Regions from separate parts of the Homo sapiens genome. Here regions 1, 3, 4, 5 and 6 are each linked to region 2. Evidence: promoter capture Hi-C in 16 types of primary human blood cells and fetal thymus (Javierre and others, 2016). All regions are on one chromosome and are shown on one strand. Each heading gives the region's core, a stretch centred on a gene start or on the middle of the fragment in contact. The rest is flanking DNA. Distances are from core to core; before and after follow the strand shown. Region 1 overlaps MTBP (MDM2 binding protein). Region 2 holds the start of DSCC1 (DNA replication and sister chromatid cohesion 1). Region 3 has its middle 68 kb from the start of MRPL13. Region 4 overlaps MRPL13 (mitochondrial ribosomal protein L13). Region 5 overlaps MTBP (MDM2 binding protein). Region 6 has its middle 8.6 kb from the start of SNTB1.

Evidence for each region. Contacts are between HindIII fragments. The CHiCAGO score rates a contact against its expected background, and 5 or more counts as called.
Region 1: a contact is called between a fragment that was not itself captured here and the fragment with the promoter of DSCC1 in region 2, in 1 of 17 cell types (total CD4 T cells). The highest score is 5.1, in total CD4 T cells.
Region 3: a contact is called between a fragment that was not itself captured here and the fragment with the promoter of DSCC1 in region 2, in 1 of 17 cell types (erythroblasts). The highest score is 5.5, in erythroblasts.
Region 4: a fragment that was not itself captured here is called in contact with the fragment with the promoter of DSCC1 in region 2 in 12 of 17 cell types (erythroblasts, naive B cells, total B cells and 9 more); the score reaches 16.6 in erythroblasts.
Region 5: a contact is called between a fragment that was not itself captured here and the fragment with the promoter of DSCC1 in region 2, in 9 of 17 cell types (total B cells, naive B cells, non-activated CD4 T cells and 6 more). The highest score is 10.5, in total B cells.
Region 6: a contact is called between a fragment that was not itself captured here and the fragment with the promoter of DSCC1 in region 2, in 1 of 17 cell types (total B cells). The highest score is 5.8, in total B cells.

What each region holds. Positions count from the first base shown.
Region 1 is chr8:120,464,713-120,467,412 of GRCh38, forward strand. The region is part of intron 10 of MTBP (MDM2 binding protein); the gene reads left to right. Among named protein-coding and RNA genes, the nearest start is that of MTBP, 21 kb to the left of the region's middle. The HindIII fragment of the contact is 2,238 bases long and covers 186-2,423 here.
Region 2 is chr8:119,854,506-119,857,205 of GRCh38, forward strand. DSCC1 (DNA replication and sister chromatid cohesion 1) reads right to left here and starts at 1,389. Exons shown (of 9, transcript NM_024094.3): 1 at 1,109-1,389. The coding sequence starts at 1,290. It overlaps LOC105375728 (a long non-coding RNA gene), which reads left to right. Exons shown (of 4, transcript XR_928590.3): 2 at 170-297; 3 at 901-1,374. RefSeq lists an enhancer at 1,061-1,370 and a silencer at 1,481-1,540. The HindIII fragment of the contact is 2,867 bases long and covers 1-1,898 here.
Region 3 is chr8:120,375,540-120,378,239 of GRCh38, forward strand. No RefSeq gene overlaps it. Among named protein-coding and RNA genes, the nearest start is that of MRPL13, 68 kb to the right of the region's middle. The HindIII fragment of the contact is 1,409 bases long and covers 727-2,135 here.
Region 4 is chr8:120,406,381-120,409,080 of GRCh38, forward strand. The region is part of intron 6 of MRPL13 (mitochondrial ribosomal protein L13); the gene reads right to left. Among named protein-coding and RNA genes, the nearest start is that of MRPL13, 37 kb to the right of the region's middle. The HindIII fragment of the contact is 2,167 bases long and covers 301-2,467 here.
Region 5 is chr8:120,447,514-120,450,213 of GRCh38, forward strand. All of the region lies in intron 2 of MTBP (MDM2 binding protein), which reads left to right. Among named protein-coding and RNA genes, the nearest start is that of MTBP, 3.4 kb to the left of the region's middle. The HindIII fragment of the contact is 335 bases long and covers 1,146-1,480 here.
Region 6 is chr8:120,819,264-120,821,963 of GRCh38, forward strand. No RefSeq gene overlaps it. Among named protein-coding and RNA genes, the nearest start is that of SNTB1, 8.6 kb to the left of the region's middle. The HindIII fragment of the contact is 1,657 bases long and covers 505-2,161 here.

The DNA of each region.
Region 1 (2,700 bases), core at 55-2,554, 610 kb after region 2:
CAAAGTATTTATTTGATGAAGTGGCCTTTACCAATATTAACCTGGCTTTCATCCTCTAAGAATAACTAATTTACTAAATTTTGAAATTTTAAAATTTATCTTTTATCATTTATCCAACATATATTCTACTGTGTATGAGGTACTATACTAGATTTCGGGAACCCAGTAATGAAGTGTACAGAAGAAGCTTCTGTATTTGTGGAACTTACATTTTAGGGGACCAACAGAAAATAAATAACTACAGACATAATAAGAATTATGAAGAAATAAACAGCCTGAGATAGGGAATAAGTCAAGAGACCCTAGTTTAGATAGAGATTAATAAGGCCATACATTTCTCCAAACTATTTGCAGAGACAGCTTATGAATTAGTATATATTTTTTAAGTGCACTGAGAATAAAAAATACCCTGCTTCTATTTTAATCCAGGTAGCCAAGTAGCTCTCTGTATATCCCTGTCCAGTCACCTAATTTTTTGGAGATGCTTCCTTGTATGGATTGAGAAAATTGTTATTTATCATTAATTATCTATATTGCCAAATAAGGGAGGAAAGGAATATAGATGGTATAGTAGAAAGTCTTAAATAGAAGAGCATGTTTTTTAGAAAACTTGACTTTAAGCCATAGCTATGCCACTCACTGGCTTACAGCTCTTAATATTGTAAACTGGAAATAATAATCCCTCTGTTACCTATTTCAGAGTTGTAATAAAAACCAAATTGAAATGTATTTTATAAACTACCAAGTATGATATAAATGATGGTTGCTAACTAATTTTTTATTGTCTTTGAAGTTTATGTGGCCCAAATGATGGACACACATATGTGAAGCAGTTTCCTTAAAAGTATAAAGCGCTAGATATTAGATATTCTCTAAGTAATTTGAAGGTATGATGAAATTTATAGAAATTTTACAGAGAAATTTGTAGAAATCTTATAGAGACTTTTTTTTTTTTTTTTTTTTTTGAGACGGAGTCTCGCTCTGTCACCCAGGCTGGAGAGCAGTGGCGCGATCTCAGCTCACCGCAACCTCTGCCTCCCGGGTTCAAGTGATTCTCCTGCCTCAGCCTCCCAAGTAGCTGGGATTACAGGCATGTGCCACCATGCCTGGCTAATTTATAGAGACTATTTCAAGTCAAAATGAGATCTGTACCTATAGTTTAACACAGGTGTAACATAAGCATTAGTCCATCTAGTTATTGAAGATAGGCAACACTAATCCTAGAAGCACCCTAAACTATTAATGTTTAATAATATATTTTCAGTTGTTTTGTTTTAAATTTGTTGTATTAGATTATCATTTTTTCTTCTCAAACCATGATTGTAAAATATTACAACATACTTTATTAGTAAGAAATAGAGACTTTATAACTATGTTCCCAGTTCAATGCAGCAAAAGGGATTATTTTTGAAGCCATATATTATGTAACTTAGAAAACAAATCTAAATATGAAGTAATTTATTTTTCTTAAACATTGAGTTATGATTTGTTTTTTACTCTTTTTTTTTTTTTTTTTTTAGACGGAGTCTCGCTCTATTGCCCAGGCTGGAGTGCAATGGTGTGATCTTGGCTCACTGCAACCTCCGTCTCCCGGGTTCAAGCAATTCTCCCGGCTCAGCCACTCAACTACCTAGAACTACAAGCATACACCACCATGGTTGGCTAATTTTTTTTTGTATATTTAGTGGAGACAGGGTTTCGTCATGTTGGCCAGGCTGGTCTTGAACTCCTGACCTCAAGTGACCCACCCACCTCGGCCTCCCAAAGTGCTGGCTTTACAGGTGTGAGCCACTGCACCTGGTCATTTTTCACATTTTTGAAAAAGTGTTTAATTACATACCAGTTCTTTGAAATCTAGTGCTTTATAACTTGGGTTTCAGCTGGGCGCGGTGGCTCACGCCTTTAATTCCAGCACTTTGGGAGGCCGAGGCAGGTGGATCACCTGAGGTCAAGAGTTTGAGACCAGCCTGGCCAACATGGTGAAACCCCATCTCTACTAAAAATACAAAAAATTAGCCGGGCAAGGAGGCGCTTGCCTGTAGTCCCAGCTATGCGGGAGGCTGAGGCAGGAGAATCACTTGTACCCAGGAGGTGGAGGTTGCAATGAGCCAAGATCACGCCACTGTACTCGAGCCTGGGCAACAGAGCGAGACTCCGTCTCAAAAAATAAATAAATAAATACCTTGGGTTTCATTTATTAAACAATTAATTTTTTTAAAAATGTTTTTACTGCTGCTATCTGCCAGATGCTTGTTTGTAATATTGGATAGAATAAGATGGACAGGCCCTTTCTCAAGAAACTTTCATGGTGCTTAAATTCTATTGCTTTGTGTGATCTTCAGTCAGCATCTTAGCTTAAACAAATTATTTATCTATGTAACTATGATTAGCCCCAGAATATAAGTAAAAACTTCTTGGAGTAAAGCTTATTTTACTAATAATTAAGCTAGATTAGGAAAAGACAAGATAGGATTGTTAGGGAGTTATGATGTTCACTAATCTTCTGGCTGGGAAATATTTCTTCAGAGAGAGGAATTTGCAAGCTAGAAACATGATTTCCACAATGACTGCTTGTTGGAGAGGACCTACTGAAAAGATTTAATCAAGATTTTGAAACTCAGGCCAGGTGCAGTGACTCACGCCTGTAATCCCACCACTTTGGGAGGCCAAGGCGGGTGGATCACTTGAGGTCAGGAGTCC
Region 2 (2,700 bases), core at 139-2,638:
GCTTAATAGGCCCAAGTACCTAGTCTTTAACATTTATTTCTCTAACTGCACTACCCCCACTTTGAAATATTTTGTTTATACCATCACTCCCTACACCCCAAAATTAAAAACACACGTTTCCAGGGCCTGTTTTTATTTTTTTGTTTTTGTTTTGTTTTGTTTTTGCCAGCTAGATTAACTAGAACTGGACCGAGAGAAAGTCCTCACACCTGAGTTCCTTTCTCAACTCTCCACCAACTGAACCGGGATGGAAACAGACTAGTGAAGTTCTTTCAGTTCCCTTAAAGGTACTTTGAGGTATATAGCAGGTATCTGAAGAATGGCCAGTTTACTCTAACACTCTTTGGTGGGCAAAGTACGAAAACTGAAAGACAGCCTAAAGGATTCCATTAAGAAAAAAGAGAAAAAATAGCCTAATAAAATATAGGTGTCGGAGGACCAATTGTGCAAAAGAGAATCAAGCTGGAGCTCCCTATTTTGCAGGAGCTGGGGCTGCACAGGGTGGAGGGATATAACGATTCTCTAGACTTCTCAAGACTGCCTTTAAAAAACTACCTCAACTTCGACTTCTAATCAATGATCTTGCAGCAAGTTTGTATCTGACCTGGAATTAGAAACAGCTTCAGATCCCTACTAAGCAAGTTTGCTTCGGGGTGGGTAGGGGTCTCACCCAATTACCAAGTCTGTAAGCTGATTCCCAGCACTTCCTATCTATCATCTGAGTAAAATAAATATAAGTGGAAGGCAAGAGTTCTATAAACATTGGGTATCACCACTGTATTTTAAGGTAGAGTGACAGGTGTCCTGTAGAGTCCCTGTAATCACCGGTAACTCTTCAAAAACTTCACGGAGGTTGTATTAGTATTTCCTGACTTGCTCCCGCTGACACATGCCTCCAAGGTCAGCTGGACCAGTGCTACTCATCACCGCAGTGCAGCTAACTGGACGGCCCACCGGAGGCGTGGACTCCTCGGGAACAGGCAGCTTGCTATGAGCCCCCGGCCAGGTCAGTGCATCTCTCTGGCCCTGTTTTCTTATCCCGACTTTCCCCGCTGAGAAAATAACGTGGCCGGCCAGAGGCTGGGGGCGCCGCGTGACCAGGGCTCACCTGTGTCCATCCTCCAGCTGCTGGCACAGCGTGGGCTCCAGCTCCAGCAGGCAGAAGTCGCCGGCTGCAGCGCCGCTGGCCCCAGGGCCGAAGCCCAGGCAGTGCACCGCCGGCAGCAGCTCGGCCGCATTCAGCTTGGCGATCTGCAGCGTCGCATCCACCTCGTCGCGGGTCCTCTTCATCGCAGCGCCGGGTCTAGGAGTCCCGCCGCGCCCGGGTGGCTGCGGGCTTGGCGGGCAAGAAAGAAGTTCCCAAGCAGCCGGAAGGTAGGAAACCTGAGCGTTTGAAAGCGCGCCAAGGCGGCCATGGGCGTGTTTCCGGGGCGGAGCGCGCTGCGGGCCCGCCCGCGGGAAGGCCTGCCGGCTTCTGGGAGCGCGAGCCCCTCCGTGCCCCACGCCGGACCGCGACTGCAGGAAGGAAACGCGGCTTCCCGGGGGGCGGTCTCGGCGGAAGCTCGCAGGGGCAGAGCTGCGACTCGGCGGGTTGGGACACGGATCCCTCGCCCACCCTTTCCGCTGTCCCCTTGCCCGCCCCCCATCCCCGATCTCCGTCCCTGGTTTCCAGCCGATGCTCCCATTTCCTCGCCGTCCACATTGTCTCACCTTCCGCCAGTGGCGGGCCCTGTGATAACCACTTGGCATGTATAATTCCATGAGCCCGTTGCCACAACCCTGTAAGGTGGTGCCTTGGTCATTCCCTTTTGCCAATGAGGAAGCAGGCTCCTTGCTCGTGATGGCAGAGTCAGGAGGTAACAGAGTCTGACTCCAGCCTAGCCGACTGTGGCTCTAAAAGCTTCCTGCGGGGTTTTGTGCAAATAACCCATGCTCGGGAGCGAGGCCCTGGGAAGGAGTATCTCGCTTCTTTGGGTCAGGGCACCATCATATCTGGAGACAACGGCGGGACTAGTCTATTCGTTGAATACCTAGTGTTAACCGAAAAGTGACTGATGCAGGTCTCGTTCAATAGAGGTTTATTTAAGCAAGGTTGAGGACGCACCCGAAGGGAAAAACAAGTCACAGGAGCATCTGTGACTTGTACATTTTCCAAAGGTTTGGGGAACTTCAGTATTAAGAGTTTTAAGAGAAAAGGTTTTCACTATGCACACATACATGAATTGCTTGTAACAGCGTAATGTGTAAACTTTCCCAGAGATGCTTAGGGAATCGTTGAGGGCCCTGGCTGTCCCTGAGAGCTAAAATAGTCTGGGAGGAATCACTTAAGAGATGGTGACCTCCTACTAGTTAGTGCAAATCAGACCTTGCTTGAAGTGAAAGAAAGTGGTGGGTAAGGTGTTGAATTCAAAGGATCTGAGCAGACATTTTTTTCAATTCTTGGGTAAAATGATACGAAAATACCAGAGTAGGGCATCCCAGGAGTCTGGGCAGTGCTTTCGTTGGTGGTGGAAAGATTGGTTCATGTGACCTACTTCTTCACTAGCCTCTTTTACATTTGAATGCATAGGAATTCGGTGGAATGAAATCCTGAATGTGACAGTGGTTGCCTGATAAGAAGTTATTATTGAAGGGAATCAACCATTGTAGTTGCTCTATTAAATGGGAAACATTCCCTACAACTAGAAGCAGTGTCAACTA
Region 3 (2,700 bases), core at 181-2,680, 520 kb after region 2:
GGAGCTTGGGAGAAAAAGCAGTGCTAGAGATACATTTAGGAGTCATCAGCATGTAGGGTGTATTTAAAGGCTACAGACTATGGGGTGGGGGTAGGGAAAATGAGTGGGCTTATCTGGGGGAATTTCTTGTTTTCCGTTATCCTTTTTTTCATTTTTGTGTCAACAAATTCTCTCCAACTTGGTCATTTATATTTTATTTTTGAGGAAGTATATTTAAATAGGTATCTTAACAAAATACTTTCCAAACTAGAGCCATAATGAACTTGTGCCTGTTCTCTCTTGTTTCTACATCTTTGACATGCTTTATCTTCCACATGGAAAGTCCTTCTTCTCTGCCCCACCTTAGTTTAAATGACCTGCTTAAACTCATACTCAACTTTGTAGACACCTGAGGCTCCTCTTCCTGTGTCAAACCTTTACTAAACTCCACCATGACCATCTTGACAACTATGACACCGCAGCCCCCTTTACCAGCTAACTCTTTGACCTCTCTTCTCCCATACGATGTGCATTCTTTAAGGGGTCTCAGACTGATCAGAGCATGCTTGACTCTTGACAGCTGCTCAACAAATGTTTGTAGAATTCTATTAAGAAGCATTTCATCCTAGCGCAGTTTCATCTATATTCTGGGCCAAATCACATACTCTGCTTATAGCAGGAAAACTTTTCTATCAGTATAAGGCAGAAAATTTGGGAGACAGGAATAACGCCTGGAAGTGAATGATAAGCTTCTATAGCTTTCAAATTCAGATCTAGTAAATGTTCCATAATGTAAGGGAAGTATGTAAGTCTTGTCTTCTGATAAATTTATTCATTCATGTGTTCATGTATTCATCCATCTCTCCATGCATGCATGCATCCATCCATCAAACTTTTAATTAGGATCTGGGGTCCATGAGTTCAGCCATGTGTTGGGGTGCTGGAAAGGAAGAGATGAATAGAGTGACACAGGAGCTCCCTAATTTTCTGCTCTCAGTTGAAGCAGGAAAGATGGCTTGGAGCAGATTGTGGAAGATCTTCTATCCGATGTTGAGATTTTTATCTGAGGGAACAGGGGCAGTGGATATCTTTAAGCAGATGAGTGACCTGATTAGAGTTATTATTTTGGGGTACAATTTTTATAGAATGTACAAGATAGACTGGGGTGGGAAAAGATTGAGGAAAGAAAAAGACATTTAATGAAGACTTCCTATATGTTAGCTTCTGTTCTGGGCGCTTCATAGGAAGTTGATTTTTACAAATTAAGGTAGGTATTACCTTTTCTTCTTTTCTTTTTTGCAAATGTTGAAACATGGAAGGTAAGTAACACACCCAAGGTCACATACATGCACAGAAGAGGCAAAGCAGGGATTCTAACCATTGGTTTGTTCCCAAATTTCACGCAACCTCCCGCATATGTACTGTGCTGCCTGCTGCAGTCGTTCAGATGGTGACAGCCTGGACCACAGCACTGCAGTGGACAAAGAGTAGGAAGCACCAGCTTTGAGGACTGTTGAGGAAAGATTCTGGGCAGAACTTGATGACTGATGGGATCTAGGGTAGTGACATGAGGAAGGAAAGAACGAACGGCTTCATGATTTCAAGTTTGGGAGATTGGTTGAATGGTAAGTCCATTAAGGGAGAGATAAATTTGAGAAGAGGAGAGAGAATGATTTGAGAATGACATGTTGGCTTTGAGGTTTTTCTTTTTTGTCTTTTTTTTTTCTGAGTAAGTACATTATTAGTAGCAGATAGGAACTTAAGAAGGATGAAACAGAAAGGAATGATTTTGGATGTCTAATTAAGCTGTGACAGCAAGACAAGGATTAATCCCTTTGGGCCTGTCCCCAACAAGAAGCGCTGTTCAAATGCAGAATGGAGGTTTCCAAGTATGAACCAAAATATTTGGTTTAAAAAAAAAACACAACTTTTCACTCTAATTTGATGTGGCATCAGAAACATTAATGGAAAGTGTTCATTTGTGCTAGACAAGCTCAGAGTTTAGAAAACTCCTTTGCCACAAAGTCCTGGTTATATCTATACTCTTTAGAATAACTCTATTATCAACAAAAATTAAGTAAATTTTACTTAAATGTTAATGCTTAAAAGTTTTATATTGTTTGAAAAATATTTTGCAACAAGTATGTGCTCTCAGAAGCTTAAGACTTTATTAGAAAATCATAAAAGATTTTAGAATAAAATTCTGCTTTACAAATAATCTATTGCCCTTTAAGTATCATCATTATTATTAATGATCTGGAATGAATGAATAAAAATGAGTCATTGACAGTTAGAAAGATGGTAGGCAATGATAATTTTGAAAGCAGAATAATGGGCAATAGAGTAAATTCATTATTGGGAGTGTTGGAATGATTTTCTTGTTTAAGTAGCATTTATCAATGCATAAATGCTACTCATGGTTTAATTTTTCTCTGCATCTTACTATGTAACAAAAAGTATATGCTGGCATAAAAACTACATTTTGTTGTTTGTTTCTTTGTTTAATTTCATTTTATCTTATTGATTTTTAAAAATTCATGAATAATGTCATAAAATTCAACTATATTAACCTAACAAAGTAAGTTTTATAATGAAATCTAGAGTAGTAAAAATATATATTGTAAAATCTAAAATTCTGTATGCTAACAAAGTAAAAGTAACTGAATAAGACAGAAAAGAAAGGTATAATTATTGAAGACATCCATTTTTGGGTGTCCTGTC
Region 4 (2,700 bases), core at 134-2,633, 550 kb after region 2:
CATGAACTGAACATCAATTTCCCTTTCAGGGAGGATATGATTCCATTCATGCATTCATTTATTCAACAAATTGACTGGTCAGGTCCTGCTGTGGGCGCCGGGAATAAAGTAGTGAGCAGGACCCAGTCCTCATCTTTATAAAGCAGTTTCTAACAGTGGATTATATATGTGTGCATGTGTGTGTGTGTGTGTGTGTGTGTGTGTGTGTGTGTAATTGTTATCTAATACAGCTATGATATATATTTTATATACAATTTATATATAGTATACTTATATATAAAAATATATGAAACACACACAAGCTTTGATCTTTGAAGTGAAAGACGAAAGTTTTAAATTTTCATTTATGTGCTTAAAATATACTTGGGAGATTAATGAATCATCTAAGAAATAGCTAACATAAAACTTTCCTTAATTCATTCTCTAAATTGTGCTAAACTTTCCATAGCTATCAAATGTTCTGTAACAACTATCTATTTTGCAGATACTTGTCACTAGCAAAAACTGCCTTTATACAAAGTAACTTTCGAAAATAGTATTACATTTTGAGTGAGAAAACAGAACTTTAAAAAGCCTCATCTGAGTTGTAGAAAATATTCTCTGGTGCTTGTGACTGCTCAAAAACAGTTAAAATCACACCACATGCCACATCATTCTGTTTCCTATAGCAAATTCTTTACCATACGCATCCCTATGCAAAACACTGCCTGCTACTCATTAGATGAAACAAGCAAAATACTGCTACTCATTAGGATGAAATAAGCACATATCAAAAAAGCAGATTCAAATTCAGAATTCAGAAATGACAGAAGTCAAAACATTTATATTATCTTGAAAATGGAGTAATTTCTCACCTCTTAACATTAGGAAAAAACTTTTCGGAGATTTTAGTTTGTATTATAAAATGGTAGGAAAAATTTACTTGGTTGTGAATGAAACAAAACATCAAGTTATGAAGCACATGGTTTATGCTACATTAAGATAAGTGACACTTAACATTATTGGTCCTACTTCCCAGCACTTTGGGAGGCCGAGGTGGGCAGATCATGAGGTCAAGAGATCGAGACCATCCTGGCCAACATGGTGAAACCCAGTCTCTACAAAAAATACAAAAAATTAGCTGGGCGTGGTGGCGGGCTCCTGTAATCCCAGCTACTTGGGAGGATGAGGCAGGAGAATTGCTTGAACCCGGGAGGCAGAGGTTGCAGTGAGCCGAGATCGCGCCATTTCACCACCCCAGCCTGGGCAAAAAGAGCAAAACTCCATCTAAAACAAAACAAAACAAAACAAAACAAAACAAAACAAAACAAAACAAAAAATACATTATTGGTCCTACTAAGAATAATTTATTTTTCAAGTAAAAAAATTCCCTATTTCAGCTGTAAGTCCAGGAAATTGAGTGTAGCTTAAGTGTAATAAATCTCAAAAAAATTTTTTTCTTCAATAGGTTTTATGTCTTTTCACTCTTACATAATATTTCTTAGTATAATGCTTATTCTATGAAACATTTAAAAGACTAAAATAATATTTGGATGGTGAACTAATCTTAAAAGCGATAAAAGGTCAGTTTGAGTTTTAAGTCACTTCCATTGAATGAATGAAATTATTTAGAATAAACCATTTCAGGAAATCTGGTGACATCACATATTCTTTAAAGATGCTAGCTATACTGAGAGGTAAAGTAATGGTGCCTTAATACTAATTTTCCTAGGCACTGTAGCACCATCCTGATCCGAAAAAGCTCAACATACATTTAAATAAAATGTTTTTTTAAATCCTTTCTTGATTATTCTTTTTTGTTTCTTCCCTTTCAGATCCAGACCTACAGATCAACATACTTTTAAATAAACTAAACCTGTAAGATTGTTGAAAATTTTTGCCAAATGATTTTTTCAATTAAAATGAACAGAAATTGCCATTACATTCAACTGCACTTTTTTAGTCAAAATCTGTATCAGCTAGGACTTATAAATGATTTGGGTTTTGTTGTTTAAATAGAGACTACTTTTTTATTTTACTAGCCAGTCCTGATCTATTCACATCCAAAAGAACAGTACAGCTTAGAATGCCTAATTTGAGCAAAACCCAGGACTGGAAAGACTGAAGTCTATCATTGAAGTCAATGCTGAACTGGTTGAAATAGGTAGGAAAGTTGGAAAGTAACCTTAGTCCACAAGTCCAGCTAGTAACTGCTGACTGTGAAGAGCAGCAAATTAAGTTAAATTGTGTGGAGAAAATGCCACATGACTAGACTAGAAGAAAATTATGGAAAATCTTAAAGCTGTCCAGATCCCAGCAACTTATGGATTAGAAAAGGTAAAAATCCTTCTACATTGTCTTTAAGTCTCTGATCTGAAGCATGTTTTATAAAGGCATAGGTAAAAATAATCTTTTTCTGAGTATTAAGTAAATCTGAAAATGGGTAGTTTTTAGGATTAACAGCTTTCATATCAGAGAATATGCACTAAGCTTAAATCCGTGCTCTCTTCTAGAGCTATAGACTGAAGAGGATGCTCACCAATGCAGTGCTAATGTTCCCAGCATCTGGAATCCAGCTTTTCTTTTACAGAGCTGAATGGATCACATATTGAACTCCCTAATCCTCATCCTACTTTCGAAGAGACAGTTCTGCATCAGTAATGGTTGTCCTCATACTTCCTTGTCTTCATCCTTACCATCCATCTCTCCTTTGCAGGCACA
Region 5 (2,700 bases), core at 63-2,562, 590 kb after region 2:
CCCCTTGCGTGTTTAGGGTTTCTTATACACACGGTCCTTGTTTTGTATGATAGTGTTGTTCTTTATAATTGATTGTGCAAAGCAATCCTAATATAATCAATGAGAAAAATTAGAATTGTCCCATGACCTTTAATATCTTTTGTCAAAACATTAAAAATTCTCTTACTGTTATAAAATTTTATGGAAATAAAAAAATAGTAAAAATAAAATTTATTTTGTACCCTGTAATTTTAAAACCTTAGGTACATTGAGAATTAAAGTGTTTTATTTCTTTGTAAAAACCTTACCAAGAGTAGTTTGAGCAGTGCTTGCCACCTTCACATCATCACGTAACTTATGATACAGAATGAACATCTTTTATTGGCGAATTATCATATTCCAGTTGTATCAACTTCCAATGTTTTATTCTTCGATTTTTTTTTTCTTTTTTTGAGACAGGGTCCCACTTTGTTGCTCAGGCTGGAGTCCAGTGGCTCAATCATGCTTCACTGCAGCCTCAACCTCCCCGGCTCAAGTGTCACTATCCTCCTACCTTAGCCTCCTGAGTAGCAGGGACTATAGGCATGAGCCACCACACCTGGCTAATTTTTTAACTTTTTGTAGAGACAGGGTTTCATTATGTTGCCCAGGCTGGTCTTGAACACCTGGGCTCAAGTAATCCACCTGTTTTGGCCTCCCAAAGTGCCGGGATTACAGATGTGAGCCACTGTGCCCGACCTGGACTTTCAATGTTGTGAAATATCTCTGAGTTCCTTTAATATTAAGGTTTTTGCTAGCCTCATTTTCTCTGGGACATCTTCACCTTTTTGATCAAAAGGTGTTTGTCACAGCAGCTATTTTTAGAACTCTATTTACATTAGCTTTGAAGATTGCTTTCAGTGTTAGCACTTTTTGTTTCTTTGGTGTTTCTTTATCTCTCTCTTTTTAAAAAATTCCCTCATCCATTTATCCATTTTTATAAAATATCACATGGGTTTACACTGGGAAACCAGAAGGCAACACAATTACATCCTTTGCTACCTGTGTGTGAACTGAATGGCACTTGCACAGTGACCAATCAATGACGTACTTTAAAAGTAGTAACATGATTGGTTACTGATCATGACACACATCTTTTATGTATACAGTGGTTTTGTAGACTGAGAAGCTTGCAATGAAGTCTTAAACTATGCAGTTATAGTTAGTGAATATACCATGGTAACTGAAATTTGAACCAGGTTGTTGGGGAACTGGTGTTGTTTAAGCTACAGTAACTGGAATTTGTGCATATCAGAACCATGCAAATGGAAACTGCCTGCGCTGAATTTCCTGCCATACTAGGATTATTGATTTCAGTAATATGGCAAGTTTGAGGGACGGAAAGTACAATATGATTATAATTGGGATAAGGGTGGAGAGGTAGGCATGGCTATTTAGAGGATTTTGTAAATAGTGTCAGGGTGTTTGGATTTTTTCCTAATGGTAATCAGCAGCCATTAAAAGCTTTAATTAAGGAGGAGACATGATCAGATCTGTGCTTTTGAGGTATTCTCCCTGCAGTATAGTAGATGGATTAGAGAAAAGTATAGCTATTTCTGTACTGGGGGATTCTGTAGAAGACCAAATGAGGAATGGGAGAGGCAGCCAGGGTGGAGGAAAGTGGATAGATCTGAAGGAAATTATGGGGGTAGAATTCACCTACCTTAGCGTTGAATTGGTATGATGTAGAAGAAGGAAAGGATGAGAAAAGAATCAAGGATGACATTAGGTTTCTGGTGTGGGTAATGGCATGATGGTGGCATTTAGTGAGAAAGAACCAGATTTGGAGGGAATATGACGTGTTCAGTTTGGAACCTGTTAATAGTTGCCTGTAAGATGCAAAGTAAGAAGTAAAAATGTAAAAATGTTTTACATGTTTACTAAAATAAAATGTAAAAATAAAGTAAAAATGTTTTATAAAAGTTGGATATTTGTGTCGGGAACTCAAGATGTAGGAGAGGGCTGGAGATATTAGGTTGGTGCAAAAATAATGGCAAAAAAACCCAATTATTTTTGCACCAATTAATACAAATTATAGAACCAATGTACAGATGTCAGGTGAAGGCATGAGAAAGGATGGGATTGCTTACGGATAGTAGGGAGAACAGAAAGCCTCAAACTGAATCCCAGTATTTAGAAGAACTGAACACCAGTTTTTAAAAAGAATAAGGAGCAGCCAGAAGGATGGGTGCCACAGAAGCCAAGTGTTTTAAAGAGAAAGTAGTAAAATGTGTCATCTTTGATTCTTCTCTTATGCTGAGAGGTCAAATAACAACAGAACTAAAAACCGCTAGATTTAGTAACAAGTCAGTTATTGGTGACTTTGGTGAGTGTTCTTTCAGTGGCATATTGGAGACAAAAAACAGATTGAAATGCATTTGGAAGGAAGTGGAAAAGTTGATGAGGAAATGGAGACAGTCAGGTGTGGACAGTACCTTCAGAAGTTTATCTTTGAGGAAGAGCTAAGAAAGTGAAGTGAAGATGAATTTAAAGGGACCCCTTTTTTTAAAAAAGAAATACTTTGAGAAACACTTGTGTGTATTTAAATGGCAATGACAAAGAACAGACAGAAGGGAGCAGACTGAAATGCAGGAAAGATGATCAGTGGACTAGATAATAGAATCAGTGGTCTCAGAGGAGGTGTGGGGGATAACATTGAATTAGAAGGACAGTGCTTCTTAC
Region 6 (2,700 bases), core at 83-2,582, 960 kb after region 2:
ATTCCTACTAATCAAAAGAGAGGTGTTATCAAAACAGATACTTGTGACAGATTGAGGAATACGTAGTTGGGAAAGACTGAGATGCTTTAGCATGATTCCTTGCACACAATAGGAATACAAGCCTTTGGCAAACTGAAGCAGGAAAACTACTTAAGGAGATTGTTCAATGGCCTAGGCAGGATGGCTAAAAATCAGTATTTGTGTGGAAATAAAAGAGATGGTTTTAAAAAAAGATTGAACAGCTCGTGATGATTTATTTGATAGAGAACTAGGAAAAGGAGAAGAAGCCAATGAAATAATAATTAGTTTTTATTAAACCTTTACACTGTGTTAGACTCTGTGTGTACTTAACATATACCATTGATTCCAGACAGAAATTATTTGAGGTAGGTAATATCATCCCCATATTACAGATGAGAATGTTGCACTCAACAAGTTCACACTTCCTATAAGCATTGGAGTTGGGGTTCAAACCTAGTCTAACTTACATCTGTTCTCCTCCAAAGCTTATGCTCATAACTGTTACAATATACTAGGCATGAACTTAGGTAGTCAGAAAGAGTGTGACAGAACTTGTCAGGAGATGATGTGAGTTCATTTTAGATTTGTCAAGTTTGAGGGAATAGTGGAACATGAAACAGGTCATGGCCTAACGGCATTATAGTCGAGGGCCTAGATAAGGGCATTTAGGTATTTGTTATGGTTTGAATGTATGTGTTCCCCCAAAACTCATGTCAGAATGTAAGACCCAATATGATAGTATTAAGAGGTGGGGCCTTTGGGAGTTGATTAAGTCATGAGAGTAGAGCCCTCATAATGCAACTGGCGACATTATGAAAGGGCTGGAAATAACTAGGTAGCCCCTTTTGCCTTTCTATCTCTTCTGCCATGTGAGGACACAACATTTGTCCCTTCTGGAAGATTCAGCAACAAGGTGCCATCTTGGAAGAAGAGACCAGTCCCTCACTAGGTGCCAAACCTGCCAGTGCCTTGATCTTGGACTTCCCAGCCTCTAGAGCTGTGAAAAATACATTTCTGTTGTTTATAAATTAGGCAGTCTGAAGTATTTTGTTCTAGCAGCACAAACAGATTAAGACAGTATCATTTACTTAGATGTAAAACTTGGAGGCCAGGAGGAAGAACACACATTTAAAGGCAAAATGCAATTGCTGTACTTCACTTCTGAAATGAAAATTCAAGCCCTTTGAGGTATCACAAAACACTGCATTTACATACAGTGTCCACTGAACTAAACTCCAAAAAGGCAACTGGATGTCTGAAAGTTCTCATCTGCCTGGTGAAGGGACAAAGAAAACCAAAGCAAGCAAAAGGCAGAGCTTGGAGACAGTCTAAGGCAGCTGCCTCCTTTTCCCATCTCCATGAGTATAAATATTTTGCACCACAGAGGAAGGAAATTGTAGTGGAAGTAGAGAGGGGAAAGAATTCTCCCAGGAACATACTACAATAGAATGGCAAATTTCAGGAATAGCCAGACTGACCAGTATAGAGAAGAGTGAAGAAAAATGCTTTCAGAAGTAATTTAAAGGAGAAAACAAATTATCATTGGCTAACTAGAATCTCTGTTTTTCATATGTTTATGTTGAATATTATTTATGCAGGGAAGGAACTATGTTTAAAGTTTTATGGCTATTATAGAATTAAAGAGCTTCAAGGTAACATCTAGAAGTTGTTCCCAAACTTTGGAGGGAATCAGAACCACATGGGGAGCATGTTAAAAATGTGAGTAACATATCTAATAATTCCTTCTACATTTATCAGCAGACATACTTCTGTAATGAAGAGCTTTCTCCCATATACAGCTATTTTTGTTGCCGTCGTTTTTACATTTCACTTCAACATAGATTCTTCCTTAATGTGCCATATTCATTACTATCATTCTGTTTGTTGTTTTGATATCCAAAATTTGGCCACTATGAGCCTCTTCAAGCTGACTCCTATATTCTTTTGACAGGTCCCCTTTGTCCTTAAGCATTTTTTGTTTGTTTGTTTTTTGCCTTCTGGCAGGATTAACTTATATTTTATCTGCCTAGTCCTGGTATCAGCCATTCCTTTAAAGATCCCTGATTCCTTTTAGTAAGAAAGGTCACATAGGAACCAAGATCTGGAGAACAAGTAAGAAAGGTCACATAGGAACCAGGTAAGCTTATTGCTACTAAGGAAGACAGAAGGCGTTCATACTTATATCACCAATTCAAACCTAACATCATAAGGTACTTCCTTACCTTTCCTTATTCACATTTGTATCTCCCAATAAGTGAGAAATTTGGTTTTCAAAAATACCAATAGATTAATTCAGTTTTCTGCGTTCTACAGTATAAAAGGAAATTGTTTCAGAATTATTGTTTCAATAGCAATACCAACAACAAAACTACCGAACAAGTTCAAAATTTCTTTGCAGTTTGTTTTGTTCTTATATATCCCAGTAAAAGTGCACAAAGTACCACATAGATGCTTGATCTAATCTACCATCTAAATACAGGCAAACAGGCAGATTCAGACTATGGGATATTCAAAAAAGCAAGTGGCTTGGGTTCTTCAAAAATGTCAAGTTATGGAAGACAAGAAGCAGGGTGGAATTGCTTCAAATGAAAGAAAACTAAAGCAACATGAATACCAAATAAAAGGCAAAATCTTGGATTAAATCATCAAAGAGGAACTACAAGGACTTTTGTGTGTGAT